2 separate regions of the Homo sapiens genome follow, and region 1 is linked to region 2. The links are contacts of gene promoters, found by promoter capture Hi-C in human tissues and cell types (Jung and others, 2019). All regions are on one chromosome and are shown on one strand. The core of a region is centred on a gene start or on the middle of the fragment in contact, and the rest is flanking DNA. Distances in the headings are between cores, read along the strand shown.

Region 1 (2,700 bases), core at 123-2,622, 330 kb after region 2:
AAGCCTTGAACTCCTGGGCTCAAGAGATCCTCCCACCTCAGCCTCTCAAGTAGCTGGGAGTACAGGTGTTCACCACCATCCCTGGCTAATTGTTTAATAGAGATGGGCTCTTGCTGTGTTGCCAAGGCTGGTCTCAAACTCCTGGGCTCAGATGATCCTCCTGCCTTGGCTACCCAAAGTGTTGGAATTTCAGGCATGAGCCACTCTGCCTGGCTCTTGTATAGGATTTTTGCCATTAATGCATAACCTCAATCTACTCATGAGAAAACATCAGACCCAAATTGAGGGACATTTCTCAAAATAATCAGCCAGAGTGTTTCTCAAACATGTCAAGGTTATGAAAAACAAGAATGGTTTAGGAAGTATTACAGATTGGGTGAGACTAACACTGAATGCAGTGTAGAATCCTCAGTTGGATTCTGGCCATAAAAAGGGTATTACTGGTAAAATTGGCAAAATAGGGCCTATAATTAGTTAATGGTATTGGTATTGTATGTATTACGTAGTTACCTAATTTTGATCATTGTACTATGGTTATATAAGCTGTATTAATAATAGGGGAAGATGAGTAAAGGGCATATGGGGATGCTCTGCAGCTTTTCTCAAAGTATGAAAGTATCTGAAAATGTAAACAAAGTAGAAATTTGCTTTTTTATTTCTTACTAAGGTATCTTTAAATATATGAAGTGATATGTTAATTAGCTTATAACCATTTCATAGTGCATACATATATCAAAACATGTCATACATTAACTCTATATAATTTTTGTCTGTTAAACCCTAATAAAAAAGAATAAAAGATAAAAGTTTATAAAGATACTGATTGACCAAGTGGGAAGAGAAAGAATATGACTGTTAGCTCAGCAAAGCATAACAAATCTGAGTCCACAAGGAAAGTATTATATTTACTTCTTGGTGAAGTAAAGCAATTTGCTTCTAGCAAAATGATCTGTTTATGGCCTCTCTGTAGCACTTTACCAGTAGCAGCTGACACGATGAGAGGTTCCAATGGATTAGAATGGCTGTTTTGAAGCTAGAGTTTGTTGCATACTTTCTCAAGCAAAGATCTTACAGTTCCTTGGCATAAGGGCTCAGGGTATGAGTCATTCAGCTCTCCTGGAATGTGTCCTGGATAGTGTCAAGCCATTCCAAACAGCAGAAAACATCCTCCTTTATTCCTTTTCACTCTGGTTGGGAAAGCTATCCCCTGAAGCACCATCTGGAAAGCTTGCACTCTGCAGTGGAAAGGGCATAGTTTCCCAAACTGTGTACTCGGGGAGCTGTGTGCTATTTAAATTTTTAAGAGAAGCACAGCAATATTCAACATCTGTTGGCTACTGTGTGAACTACTAGGTTAAGGCTGTTCAGTTTCAGTATTAAATCATACTGTGTTCCTTCGATGACATCCACGGGAAGTTTAGAATATGCTCACAAAAAGGAGTAAAAAAGAATATGCTCACAAATTCTTTGCTATTTCTCCCTGCAAAGGTGGATTCAAATTCTCCTCTTCAGTATAGGCTGATTCACCTCTAATGAATGGAGTGTGGTAGAAGTGGCAGCATGTGACTTGAGAGATGGCTTCATCGAAGGCACTGTGGCTTCTTCCTAGCTCTCTCTTTTGGATTGCTCATTTTGGGGGAACGTTAGCGGCCATGTCATGAGGACACTCAAACAGCCTTGTGGCCTCCTGCCAGCAGCTGAGTCCCATGCCCAAAGATTCTCTCAGAGCTCAAAATAATCTATTTTATCTGCGGTTATATTCTTTACTTAATCCTCATACTGCTTTTGGGTTTTTCTCACCAATCTTTGGTTATGTTAAGTTTGTGTTTGTGTTGGCTTATTGCAGATTTGGTTTAGGTTCATTGTTCTTTTAATTTTTATTTATATTTAGCCAATTCAATAATTTCTTTTTATCTGTATTAAATCTTTCTTTGAAATTCCTTTGAATTATTTTTTCTTTTTGAGTTGAATTACTATCTTTTATCTCATTTTCTTTTTTTTTTTTGAGACAGAGCCTCACTCTGTCACCCAGGCTGGAGTGCAGTGGTGTGATCTCAGCTCACTGCAACCTCCACCTCCTGGGCTCAAGTGATTCTCCTGCTTCAGCCTCCTGAGTAGCTGGGATTACAGGTGCCCGCCACCACGCCTGGCTAATTTTTGTATTTTTAGTAGAGATGGGGTTTTGCCACGTTGGCCATGCCGGTCTTGAACTCCTGACCTCAGGTGATCCACCCACTGCGGCCCCCCAAAGTGCTGGGATCACAGGTGTGAGCCACCATGCCTGGCCTCATTTTCTAATAAGGTTAAGACTATGACTTTTTTTTATAGTATGAATCTGACTACATTGCAAATATTTTGGTAGGTACTGTTTTCATTGTGATCAATTTCTAAATAGTCTATTGTAATAATAGCAAGTTTTTACATAGCAGTTACTATGTGGTGGTGGTGTTTTGAGTGCTTTATTATGTATTAACTCCACACAGTTAGCAAGGATTGGAGCCGGGATTTGAACCCTAGGTAGTTTGGCTGCAGAATTCGTGCCATTAACCACAGTGCCGTGCTGCCTGTCAGTTTGGTTTCTTTTTCCTCCAAATTGAGGTGTAATGGAAGTACAGTAAACTGCCCACATTAAAAGTGTGCAATTGGATAAGTTTTGACATACGAATACACCTGTGAAGCCACTGCCACAATCAACATAAA
Region 2 (2,700 bases), core at 41-2,540:
ACACTCAGATTAAGAAACAACATCTCGGCCGGGCGCGGTGGCTCACACCCGTAATCCTAGTACTTTTGGGAGGCTGAGGCGGGCGGATCACCTGAGGTCAAGAGTTCAAGACCAGGCTGGCCAACATGGTGAAACCCTGTCTCTACTAAAAATACAAAAAATTAGCCAGGCGTGGTGGCATGTGCCTGTAATCCCAGCTACTCGGGAGGCTGAGGCAGAAGAATTGCTTGAACCCAGGAGGTGGAAGTTGCAGTGAGCTGAGATTGCACCATTGCACTCCAGCCTGGGCAACAAGAATGAAAACTCTGTCAAGAAAGAAAGAAGAGAAAGAAAAGAAAGGTAAAGGAAAAAGGAAAGGAAAGAAAGGAAGGAAAGAAAGGACATCTCCAGCATTCCAGAAACCCCCTGGTACCTCCTCCAGTCACTATCTGACTTCTAAGGGCAGACTGTTGTTGCTCTTTTGTTGTTGCCTGTTTGTGTACTTTGTGTAAATGAAAGCATATAGCGTGCGCTGTCTCCTGCCTGGCTGCTTTCCCTCGTCCTTATGCTTGTCAGACCTGTGTATATTATTGCATATAATTGTAGATCACTCACTCTCTTTGCTGCAGAGTGGTCCATTGTGACTTACATCATTCATTCTAACGATAATGGATGTTTGGGCACTTTCCAATTTGGGACTGTTACAAACAGCACTGTTTTGCAACAAGTCCTTGATGGGAATCCCAGAATGAATTTAGAAATGTTGGTTTCCAGGCTGTGGCGCTACCTTCTGGACAAGAGTCGCAAAACACGCACAGGGAGTTACGAACCAAGTTGCTCCTCAAAGAAACCCAGACCCAGAGTAGCCACAGGCTGAGCCTTGACCCCGGCCAGAGACCAGACACCCCTACGCCAGAACCTAGTCACGTGCAGACTCAAGCACGTGGGAGCTCTGACCCAAGCCACCGTGAAACCGTAGCTCTAATTCAAGTCCACAGTCCCTAGAGTCCCAGGTGGGTGGGATCCATGGGCTACATCCCCCAAGGGGAGGAGCCCAGCAGGTGCCCTGAGTATCAAGGTTGTGGCATTAAGGCTGAACTCCTTCTCGACCTCACTGAGCTGTGGCCCCTTACAGGCAGTCACCCCGGGAACCCTGTCGCGAGAGCTCCTCGGGCCTTGTGTCCTAATGGGGCAGGCTCACATGCAGCCTCCTTGGCCCCGTGCCCTGCCCAGACCTGTTCTGGATTCCACCCCCACCCTTCCCCAAGGTCGCTGCCACCTCCCACCTGCCAGGCTTGGGCAGGGCCTCTGAGACACAGCCGGAAAGGCTGGCAGGCAGGAGGGCTGGGGCGAGCACTGGGGGGCCATGGAGCGGGCAGAAGAGCCCGTGGTCTATCAGAAGCTGCTGCCCTGGGAGCCAAGCTTGGAGTCGGAGGAGGAAGTGGAGGAGGAGGAGACATCAGAGGCGCTGGTTCTAAACCCCCGGAGGCACCAGGACTCTTCCAGGTAAGTAAGGGAGGGGTCTGGGCACCAGGCTCCCCAGGCTTGAGGTTGGCAAGTCCCTCTCTCTGGAGCCCCTCAGGGGGACCAGGCGACTCCCCGCTGGGTTTAGCTCCAGGCACTGTACGGTCAATTTGGGGGAAAACCCAGGCTGTAGCCCGAGACTTGGCCTGACCCAATCAAAAGTCTGTGCATCTGGAGGGACATTTGTACCAAGCCAGCCTCTGTCCCATCTGCTGCTTTGTCAAAGGTCCCCAGCCCCCAAGTCCTGGTGCAGGAGGCACCTGCTGGGCAGGTTGGGGCCTGACTACGCCTGGCTGGGCCTGCTCCCCAGCCCCTTCTCTCCTGCCTGCCACACCCCACTGGGCCTCCCTCCCACCTGAGTGGACTCTGCCCCACCAATCTCCCCTCCAGAGGCTCCCTCCCTAGCTAGGCTCAGTTTCCCCAGATGCTTTCCCATCCCCATGTCTGCCCAAGATGCACCCGCTGCCAAGAAGCCCTTTCTCCTTGGCTGACTTGTGCTCCTCTTGCTAAATCAAACCTTTTGGGAAATATTCCCTGGGGTCTCTTGGGGTCCTTGGGCATCCCTCTGTCCCAGCCGTGGCTCAGGACACCCCCCCTCTGCAGGAACAAGGCTGGCGGGCTGCCCGGAACCTGGGCCCGTGTAGTGGCAGCCCTGCTGCTGCTGGCTGTTGGCTGCTCCCTGGCTGTGAGGCAGCTCCAGAATCAGGGCAGGTCGACAGGAAGCTTGGGCTCTGTGGCCCCTCCACCCGGCGGACACTCCCACGGCCCTGGCGTATACCACCACGGTGCCATCATCAGCCCTGCAGGTCAGTCAGTGCTGGGGGCGGCTTGGGGAGGGGAGGGTCAGGGGTCACCAGCCCAGCCTAGCCCCCCTCCTTGCTGCATGACAGTGCCTTCCTTGCTGCAGCCACATGCTCCCACCTAGGCCGAGAGCTGCTTGTTGCCGGGGGCAACGTCGTGGATGCTGGAGTTGGAGCTGCATTGTGCCTGGCAGTGGTGCATCCTCATGCCACGGGGCTAGGTCAGTGACCCCTGACCCCAGACTGCAACCCCAACCCACAGCCTGATCAGTGACCTGGAACTTAGGGAGTCAGTAGCACTGACCTCAAGACTGCTAAGTGAGCAGGACTTAGGGTTTGGGCAGCAGTCCAACCCCAGGCTATGACCCTTGAGCCCGGGTCTGTGGAACTTTGACCT

The links. Contacts are between HindIII fragments. The study calls those that stand out against the background at their distance.
Region 1: a fragment that was not itself captured here is called in contact with the fragment with the promoter of GGT6 in region 2 in 1 of the 25 tissues and cell types used here (dorsolateral prefrontal cortex).

What each region holds. Positions count from the first base shown.
Region 1 is chr17:4,228,729-4,231,428 of GRCh38, reverse strand. The region is part of intron 3 of ANKFY1 (ankyrin repeat and FYVE domain containing 1); the gene reads left to right. Among named protein-coding and RNA genes, the nearest start is that of ANKFY1, 34 kb to the left of the region's middle. The HindIII fragment of the contact is 6,569 bases long and covers 1-2,700 here.
Region 2 is chr17:4,559,167-4,561,866 of GRCh38, reverse strand. It overlaps GGT6 (gamma-glutamyltransferase 6), which reads left to right and starts at 1,290. Exons shown (of 4, transcript NM_001288702.2): 1 at 1,290-1,485; 2 at 2,107-2,309; 3 at 2,411-2,524. The coding sequence starts at 1,346. The HindIII fragment of the contact is 6,687 bases long and covers 1-1,814 here.